3 separate regions of the Homo sapiens genome follow, and all the other regions are linked to region 1. The links are contacts of gene promoters, found by promoter capture Hi-C in human tissues and cell types (Jung and others, 2019). All regions are on one chromosome and are shown on one strand. The core of a region is centred on a gene start or on the middle of the fragment in contact, and the rest is flanking DNA. Distances in the headings are between cores, read along the strand shown. Region 1 holds the start of KATNB1 (katanin regulatory subunit B1). Region 2 overlaps LOC105371291 (a long non-coding RNA gene). Region 3 holds the start of CCDC102A (coiled-coil domain containing 102A).

Region 1 (3,126 bases), core at 194-2,693:
TTTCTTTTTATAATACAAAATTAAGGGGAACTGCAGGCTAGACAGTTTTGATCCGATGTTATTCTGCTAATCTTTTAAAGGTGTCTTGCGGTGACTCACGCCTGTAATCCCAGCACTTCGGGAGGCTGGGGCGGGTGGATCACCTAAGGTCAGGAGTTCAAGACCAGCCTGGCCAAAATGGAGAAACCCCGTCTCTACTAAAAATATAAAAACTAGCCTTAGCCCGTCGTGGTGGCGGGCGCCTGTGGTTCCAGCTACCCAGGAGGCTGAAGCAGGAGAATCTGAAGCAGAAGGCTGAAGCAGAAGGCAGAGTGGGGACTCCCCCACGCTTTGGCTTTCAGAACAAGGGTTCGAATTCTGGGGCTATTACTTTCTGACCGTGTGGTTTTCTGCAAGCATCTTAACCCGGGCCTCAGTTTCCTCATCTGTAAATGGGAACAGGAATTCCTACCTCTTATGGTTGTACTGGGCGTTATGTGAGCCCAAGGAGCCCTGACCTGCGGTGAGAGGCTGGAGGCCGAAGGGCAAGGTTCGAGGGGCTCTGGGTGCCTGGGACAACCTCTGGGCAACAGGGAGAGGCGGCTGCGGGGCCAAGTCCCTCCTAAGCGGCCACGCGAGAGGCCCTGAGTCGAGAAGGGTTACGGCGCTTCCCAGAGCCCACCCCGCCCAACGTGTCACAAATAAAGCTGGCCTTTCTCCGATTCCCTGATTGCAGCCATTCAGGGAGCAGCCCCTTGCCCACGCATCCATTAGTCGAGGCGGTGGCTGCGTGTGCAGTGCTACAGGGTTCAGCGCCTGCCTCGGCTCCGGAATCAGGCTGTTTCCTTCTAGACCTCCCATGGGGGATTCAAGCCGGCGTCCGGGTCAAAGAACAGGGACAAAGTCCTCCTGCCACGGGGGACCATCTGCAGGCAAAGTGAAGAATGAGGAGCTTCGGCAAAATGCCGACTAAGGCCTCCTTAGGTTTTGCCCCACTCCAAGATGGAAGGCCTGAGGCTTCACACTGCCCCCGAAGTTCCTTTCCCATTGGCTATCTGGGAATTGAGTTTTCCAATAATGCGGACGCTGATTGGTCAATCCAGGACGGTTGCTCAAGCCATTGGCGCAGCCGCCATTGGAGGGCGGCTCTCAAAAGTTTTCAGACACAAATTAGGTTCGAGGGAGGAAACGGAGAGGAAAGGGAAAACTTGAGACGGAGGCGGGACTAAGGAAACGGCAGCTTGCATTGGTTTATTAGAGGCCAAGGGGCGGCTCTTGAACGTTCCTTCCTCTTGATTAGTCCTATTTAGGAAAAGAGGGCGGGTACTGAGGAAAAGCGGCAGAAGCGCCTGCTTCCATTGGTCAGTCCTGGCAGGAGGCGGAGCACCCGCGGCAGCTGATTGGTGCGGGAGGCAAGGTGGGCGGGGCTCTGAGCCGGAGGTTTTGTTGTGAGGGTCGGTTGTCAAGCAGCGGCCAATCAAGGCAGGGGATGGAGGCAAGTGGGGGTCGCGCCTGGAGCGGAGCCTCGGCCTCCGGAGCCGCAGCTGCAGGTGGAGTGGGCAAGGGGACGAGGTGGCGAGGGGACGGTGGGCCCTGGGCTGGGCCGAGCCAGGCGGGGCTGGCTGGGCTTGCGGGCAGAGAGCTCTGAGCGTGGGGAGGCTAGAGCCCGTACTCCGCAAGCAGAGGGTTGGGAGGATCAGCCGTGGCCGAGGGACCTGCCCCCGCCCCCGGACGAGAGGGGTCGGGGTGGAGGCCGGAGGGGGCAAAACCAGGGAGGCCGGAAGCAGAGCTGGGGGTCTGCAGAAGGACAGGTAATGAATAGGGAGAAGAGAAGTAGGAGAATGAATGAATGGGAGACCCCGCGAGCATATGGGAAAGGGCAGTAACGGGAGTCTGGCGAGGCAGGGGCCACGTGAGGGATATCGGGAGACAGGATGTGCATAAGTGGGAGACTCAGGGGGCAGGGAGAAAAGGGGGTGTGAACGGAGGACTAGAGAGGCAGACCCGGGGACCCAGGAGAAAGGGGACGGAGGGGAGCGGGCTCATGGGAAAGAGGTGAAGTGGCTGTGGGAAGGAGGTGGGAGGCTCCATGAGGAGGCCTTTTAGAGTTGAAGAGTCATAGCCACTTACGCCCAGACTGGAGGCCTAGTTCCTAGCTCTGTCCTTGGGAATCGCAGGGAGCAGGAGCGGTTCCCTTGCCAGGAGCTGGGGAATTGGACCATCAGGGTCGTCTTCGAGATTCTTTCCAAGGAGGACTTCAGTGGCCGTCTCTGGGATGCCTTTCCTAGGCCCCTAAGCTTAGCTTCTGACTCCGCTCTCCCACATCCCACACGTCAGACAAAAACAACGACTCGCAGGAAATCTATGTGAATTGCAGACACGTGGTCTTCTCCGCCCCACTGCGGCTGCTGCACTTTAGGCAGCCAGCATCCCGGAACAGAGCTGCAGCTCATTATCCTGGCCTCTGGGAGGAGTTTCTTTTTCCTTACGTTCCAAATCACCCTACCTGAGGTGCCCCCTCTGCAGATTCCCAAACCTAATTTGCAGTGCAGCTTCTGACTCTGGTGGCTTTGGTGGGTGTCAGTCTTTATCAAGTGGTCTTGGTGATCCAGGGAGCAACAGCTCTTACCAAGCATTTTCTAACATGACGTCACCTCTTGTTTGTATTGCAGCCCTGTATTGAGCTGAGATGGCTCGAGCCTAACATTCCATGATCCAGGATCGTGACAGATGTGCACAGGCTGCTGCTGTTGCTGCTGTGGGTAATTTGGAACCACGAGGCACCCCAGGGCCAGAAGACGAGGCATTCTGTCTGCCTGGATGTGTGGGAACTCTCTGCCAACTTGATTGGTGGATCTGGGGGGGGATCCACCCCCACCCCACGAGGAAAGCACAGTTTATTTTGTGGGTGGGGCTTCAGGTGCCAGCCAGCTGAAGGATGGCCACCCCTGTGGTCACCAAGACAGCCTGGAAGTTGCGTGAGTGGTTTTCATTTTTCTTTATCACCCCATTTATTCTGTTAGCGGCTTGTTGCTGGGAGGCCTGAACCCACAGCTTTGTTTCCTGTTCTTGGCACAGGAGGAGACTCCTAGACTTGGGAGTAAGATAGACCATTATGTAAATCATGACTGTGGCACTTCTTAGCTG
Region 2 (3,281 bases), core at 394-2,893, 140 kb before region 1:
GTCGTTAAGGGTGGGCAGGGTGAGGGGGAGATTCCCTGACAGCCTGGGTTCTGCCCCTCACTTGCTACAGCCCCATGCAAGCCTCTTGGCCTCTCTGAGGCTCTGTATTCTCACCTGTCAAATGGGGGTTGTCCTGGGTGTTACTTCAAAGGCTGATGAGAAAGGAGTGAGTGGGCTGGCTCGCAGCCTGGCGTGACAAGCAATGCATAAATGTATGCCGTATGAGTCACCTGTCCACAGTGGCCCCAGCAGCTCTCTCTAGCAGGGCTTGGCCAAGACTAGGCCCTCAGAGTGTAAGAAAACTCCTGGTTTGGTGCCTAGCACACTATAGATGTGGCAAACTGTGTCCAAGAACGTTTTGATGGGAGCCTGCCTGGATGACAGAAGATCAGAGTGTGCTGGAATGTCCCACCCTTTCCAGCTTCCCGCAGCCAAGCCAGGCTCTGGGGTGATCATTCCCATAGCAACCACCAGGGGTCAGGGCTGGCCACTTCTGCCTTCTTCCCTCATCCTAGCGCCTGTGGGTGGCGATGACATCCCTGCCATCTATGAGGTGGAGCATTTCCAACAAGAGCAGGTCTGAGGCCCTGGCTTGACTTTCCCAGTCCTGTTAAAGAAGAACATTGGTAAGTGTGTCCATCCATCTGTTGGGCTGTCTGTTGTTCTAACATTCACCCATCCATTTATACTTTTGTCCATTCATCCATTTATCTGTTCATTCTTTTGTCTGCCCATCCATCCATTATCGCTTTATCTTCTATTTCCTCATCTATCCACTCATCTGTTCCTTCATCCAGCCATTCATCTGACTATCCATCTGTCCATTGTCCTCCACCCGTCATCCATCCGTCCAGCCTCCATCCATTCATCCGTCCATCTATCCATTCTAATGTCTGCGTGTCCATCTGTCCATCTATCCATCCATCCCTCCATCCATCCATCCTTCCTTCCTCCTTCATCCACTCATCTGTCCATTCTAATGTCTGTGGGCTCTTCTCTTCATCCATCCATTCATCCATCCATCCATCCATCCATCCATCCATCCATCCAATGTTCAAACACCTGTCCATCTACTCTCTGTCTATCCAACATGCAGTGAGACCTTCTGTTGAGCCAGGACTTGCTCAGCTCCAGGGTACCCTATGAAGGAAGGAGACCCAGTTCCCGTTTCTGCCACTTCACTCCCCCACCTTTGGCTCACCATTTGCTGGGGAGTGGAGAAGTATCAGGCAGTGATAACATAATGAGATGTGTGTGGTCAAGCTCGGAGGTGCAAAAATGTCATATTAATTTTTATGTCACATTAGACTCCAAGGCCTCTCATCCCCTGCATGGGTAGGAAATTCAACTCGTCCTTTATGGAGAAGGCCATTGGGTTAAACAAAAATCTGGGTGGCTTAGGTTGCTTGCTCCTGGAAGGAAAACGGGGGAAGGGCCTGGGGTTAGACTCCGTGGTCTCAACGTGGTTCTCTACACCCTCCAGGCTTGGTCCAGGGAAAGCTTTGCTAAGGCTGAGAAGCCTGCTTCTCAGAAGCACGCCAGACCTGCTTTCAGGCTGTGCCTGGCACAGTGGGAGCCTCTGGTCTCAGACAGGCCCTGCATTTGTTCCCTTACCCAGGAACCCAGGCTGCAAGAACACAGACCTCTCTGGAGTGCCTGGAGCCTGTGGGCTTGGCTGCTTCCGCTAGCAGATGTTAGAGTGGGGAGAGAGGTGTCACCCAGCCTGGCCCGGGTGGTGCAGGGCAGGAGGGTTTCCTGTGGGAGGTGACTTCTACACCAAGACCACAGTGTTGAACAGGGTTAGGCAGGAGAAAAGGGAGGGGAAGTGGCACAGGCTTGGGGTTGGGTGTGGTGGGGGTAGAGAGAGAATGCAGGAGAGTGGGCTTGGTGAGCAGAGTGGCGGTGGGAGGAGCTGGAGAGAAACCAGAAAAATAAGGAAGAGCCAATTATGGTGCTCGGGAAGTAGGGAGATACTGAAGCTCTTTGACCAGGGGAGTTCCTGATCCAAGTGGTGTTTCAAGAAGATCACTCTGGCAGGGGGTGGAGGCAGGTTGGAGTGGCATCCAGGGAGGAGTAGCTGTCCTAGATTGTGCTTGGGCATCAGCAGCAGGTGATGATGAGCCACCACACCTGGGTCATGCTGCCAGCAGGAATAAAGGGAGGGGCGAGGCTCTGGGAGGTGCTGGGAGGTAGAACCCACACTGCAGGTCAGGTGAGGGTGAGGGTGAGGTTGGAGCATCATCAAGGCTGATGTCTTGGACTCTTGGGTAGTTGGGGTGGCCTGTCTGTAACTAAGATGGGGAACCCAACGGAGGGAAGAGAATTGGTGATGTGTGTGGCTCGGTTTGATTGATAGATTGGTGGATTTTCAGAGACAGGATCTACTCTGTTGCCTAGGCTGGAATGCAGTGGCACAATCAAAGCTCACTGCAGCCTCAAACTCCTTGGCTCAAGTGATCTTCCCATCTCAACCTCCTGAGTAGCTGCAACTACCGGTGTGCACCACAATGCCCAGCTATTTTTAAATTTTTCTGTAGAGATGGGGGTCTTGCTTCATTGCCTAGGGTGGTCTTGAACTCCTGGCTTCAAGTGACCCTCCTGCTGCAGCCTCCAAAAGCATAAGGATTATATGTGTGAACCACCATGCCTGGCCTAGTTATTTATTTTTAAGCATTAAAAAATGGTAAACATTTAAGCATTAAAAAATGGAGAATACACAGGATATGCCCATAGTTTAACAAAAATGATAAAGCAAATCCCTGTGTAACTACAACCCTGGTAAAGAAAGAGAACATTGCCACCACCCCAGAAACCCCCACCGCCAATCCTCCATCACAACCTCACTGTGCTGGAGAGGGAAACGTTATCCCGACACTTAGAGGAATCTCTCTCTCACTTTTATTTATGGTTTTACCACCTGTACAGTTTTAAACAATACAGTTTTAGCTCTTTAGTTTTAGTTTTAAAACAATACAGTTTTAGTTTTGCTTATTTTGGAAGATTACATGAATGAAACCCACCTTCTTTTACTCAATGTTATGTTTGTAAGATTCATCTGCATTGCTGTATGTAGAAGTAGTTTGTTCCTTTTCAATGCTGTATACTATTCCAATATGTGAACATACTATGATTTATTAATCCATTAATTTCCTGGTGGATGTTGGGATGTTTGCAGGTTAAGGCTGTTACCAACAATGCTACTATAAGCATTCTTATAGGTGAGTAGCGGTACAAATATGCATGTACTTCTGCAGGCTATGTATCTGGAAGTGGACTGTCTG
Region 3 (3,160 bases), core at 39-2,538, 200 kb before region 1:
GCTGGACCTAAGCCCAGGGGTAGGCACCCCTGGCCTATTCCCAGGTAGCCCCATCTTAGACTGAGGAGCCACAGAGACAGCCTGGATCATTGATTTGAACTCCTTTCTTTACATATGGACCAACTGAGGCCCAGAGGGACAGCTACGTGTCTGTGTCCACACCGCGGACCAGCAGCAAGGCCAGAGTAGGGAGCTGGTGATGGGATGCCTCCTCTTCTGGATCTTAGCCACCTGAGGGGCACAATGCCCCCGAGAGCACCTACACGATGGGGTCTGCAGGCACCAGGCCAAGTGGATACGCACAGCTGGAATGGTGGGGTGAACCTTCATGGGGACCCAGCCCCACCCCGACCCCAGCCCCACCCCTCTCGGCAACACCGTGAACTCTTCACTCTTGTACAGCAGACATCCCGCTAGTCCCAGCTCCATCACTGATATGCTGTGTGATATCTGCAAGTCCCTGCCCTCTCTGGGCCTCAGTTTCCTTACCTACAGGATGGGGAGAGGCACTAAAAAGATTCCTGAACGCTCTAACAGGTGGGCAGACCTCCCGAACCCAAACCAATCCAACCCCCACAAGAGCCCTGGGAGAGCGGGGGTGGGAAGGTGGACACCACCCCCACCTAAGGTACTGAAACTGAAGCCCCAGCCCTGCGTCGCCTTAGTCCTCACTTAGTCGACCCCTCCCAAGCCGCTGGCCCTGCGAACCGCCCCGCTCCACCTAGCGACGGGCGGAGGGTGGAGGGGGTTCCCGGCCCGCGCCGCGCGGTCCCGCCCACCCCACCGCATGGCCCCCATTGGCAGTCGCCGCGGCTCTGGGCAGGGCGCCGTGCTCTGATTGGCCAGCGCCGCCCGTCCATCCCGCATTCGCCATGGCGACCACGTTGGGTCCCCCGGGAGAGTCCCAAATTCCGTCCCCGCCCGCCGCCCCCTCCCGTCCGGCCCGGGCCGCGGCATTCCGGAGGCGCCTCCCCTCCCCCATCACCCCGCGGCCCCTCCCCACCGGAGACCTGGGGTTCCGGGGGCTGAGGGAGGCCGGGGAGGCGTCTAGAAAGTTCTGCTCTGAGTTCGGGGGTTGCCGCGGGCGCCCCGACTGTGTCTGCTCCTCCAGCACGCCCCACAACTTAACCCCTTCCTTCCCGCGGAAGGCGCGCGGCCTGGAGCAAGTTCCCGGGCCGCCTTGGCCTGCCGCCCCCCGGCCTGCCGCCCCCGCTCACCTCGGGCCGGGACTTGCGGGCTCCGTACGTCCCAGCCGCTGCGGCGGGGTAGAGCGGGCACCGTGCAGCTGCGACCGCCGCCGGAGGGGCCGAGGGAGGGCCGCGGAGTCTCCTCCTCCCTCCCGGGGGGAGGGGAAGCAGGGGGAGCGGCGGGGCCCCCGAAGCGGTCGCAGGCTGCGGCCCCGCTGTGACCCCGGCCCACCGAGCTGCTGGGGTGGGGGCTCCAGCCTAACTTCGGGGCGAGGGGTGCGGGCCGGGGCGGTGGGCTCTGCTGCAGAGCGGGCCGTACCCCAACGGAGGCCCCACCCCCGTGAGGGGCCGAGAGTTGCGGGGGGGCTCGGCTTTCTTGGTTCAGGTTTCCTCAGCGCCAACTACGTACTAGGCGCCCCCAGCAGAAACGGCCACCGCGGGTCCCAGCTCGGCACGTGGAGCGAGCTTACCAAGTCTTCACTGTTGTTACCTGCATTTTTCCCTGGGCCAGCTCTGCCACCGAGTGGAAGTGGGCCAACAAGTCTGTGCCCATCGGGCCTCAGTTTCTCTTTCTGTACAACAGAAGGGTTGACGAAAGCAACCTTGCGCTTGTTAAGAGGTGGGGGGCGCGGGGAGCACTCGGCCCGGCGGGCGGAGACTTTTCTCTGCATTGCGATGGTGGTTGGCAGGCCCTGGGGAATTACGGTACTTCGCCTTCGGGGACGCCCAGCTGTTTTGGGGCTTTCTCTCTATTGGGGGTAGGATGTTTGTGGTCTTGACTGGAAAGCCGGGACAGGCGTCTGGAGGACTCCCCACTACATCCTGTACCCTGGAAGGCCCCCGAGGTGAATCTATTTAAAAGAAGACCAACAATTCACCAAGATGGTGGGGAAAACCTGGCCTGATTGGGATTTTACCTAGAAAAAGAAGCTAAATATTACGAAGATAAATTAGTTTTACCCCGTGATTAACGGAGTTTAGATTATGATTGCAACCACGCACGCCTTAAAATGAACCAAGAATGAATCAGATGTTAACACTGGAAGTCTTGCTTTTTCTTGTAATAGTTGAGTATGTAGCATCCTTCCCTTCTGAACTGGTTTTTGCAGTAAGAGATTCATTTTTGCAAAAATATTTGAGAGCTTCCTCAAACTCAAGGATCACTCTGAATCCTTTGATAGTCCAGTGCCTTTTTTCGGGTCTGGGTCACTTCCCTTGCAGACGTTCCCTTTCTCTGTGGGCAGCGGCTGTTCCATTTCTCCTGCTTTGCTTCCACCAACTTCATGAAATCCCATACGTTGCAAGACTGGCAGTTTCACTTGTCGATTCATTTGCTTTGTATTTGTTATGCGTGGCTGAATGTTGAAAGCGTCTGTTCACCAGCCAGAGATAGATAGGAGATGTATGTGGGGTTTGAGTACTCAGAGGACAAGGGCATCCACATTTTACAGCTGAGGAAATGAAGGCTCAGAGAGGCTCTTGGCTCAGACTTGCACAAGGTCCTACAGCCAGTAACAGCCTTGGATCAAGAGCCCAGAGGTCTTGCCCAGAGTTTTTGGAGGTGGAAATGGGGCTGGGGAAGGTGGTGGAGACTGAGTTGATGGTGCACCTGAACTCCAGCTATAACCTCATCACTATCAGGCCTTCTCTCCTTAGGAAGAAGCAGTAAATATTGTCCTGAGGATGTCTTTTGCAGGGGCTAGGGTGGGGTGACGTGACCCACCCGATCGTAGAACCAAAGTAGGTGCTGGCCACAGGTTTTGGCAGCTCGCATGATGTTATCTTAGTTACCTAGGGGCTGGGTGTTATTACCACCCTCTCATAATGAGAAAAGTGAAGATCAGAAATGACTGGACTGGGCACGGCGGCTCACACTTGTAATCCCAGTGCTTTGGGAAGCCAAAGCGGGAGGATCGCCTGAGGCCGGGAGTTCAAGACCAGCGTGGGAACATAGGGACACTCTGTCTCTACAA

The links. The method cuts DNA at HindIII sites, captures the fragments that hold promoters and counts their contacts. A contact is called where the count stands out against the background at its distance.
Region 2: a fragment that was not itself captured here is called in contact with the fragment with the promoter of KATNB1 in region 1 in 5 of the 25 tissues and cell types used here (dorsolateral prefrontal cortex, liver, mesendoderm cells and 2 more).
Region 3: a contact is called between the fragment with the promoter of CCDC102A here and the fragment with the promoter of KATNB1 in region 1, in 1 of the 25 tissues and cell types used here (stomach).

The regions. Positions count from the first base shown.
Region 1 is chr16:57,734,327-57,737,452 of GRCh38, forward strand. It overlaps KATNB1 (katanin regulatory subunit B1), which reads left to right and starts at 1,444. Exons shown (of 20, transcript NM_005886.3): 1 at 1,444-1,529; 2 at 2,652-2,957. The coding sequence starts at 2,918. It overlaps LOC107984852 (a long non-coding RNA gene), which reads right to left and starts at 2,318. Exons shown (of 2, transcript XR_001752221.3): 1 at 2,110-2,318; 2 at 1-1,281. RefSeq lists enhancers at 1-272, 902-1,011, 991-1,285, 1,032-1,201, 2,570-2,639 and a silencer at 1,512-1,751. The HindIII fragment of the contact is 17,781 bases long and covers 1-3,126 here.
Region 2 is chr16:57,591,099-57,594,379 of GRCh38, forward strand. All of the region lies in intron 1 of LOC105371291 (a long non-coding RNA gene), which reads right to left. Among named protein-coding and RNA genes, the nearest start is that of ADGRG1, 36 kb to the right of the region's middle. RefSeq lists an enhancer at 1,814-1,893. The HindIII fragment of the contact is 8,264 bases long and covers 1-3,281 here.
Region 3 is chr16:57,535,283-57,538,442 of GRCh38, forward strand. It overlaps CCDC102A (coiled-coil domain containing 102A), which reads right to left and starts at 1,289. Exons shown (of 9, transcript NM_033212.4): 1 at 1,218-1,289. It also overlaps a transcript of ADGRG5 not described here. RefSeq lists a silencer at 582-1,531. The HindIII fragment of the contact is 34,087 bases long and covers 1-3,160 here.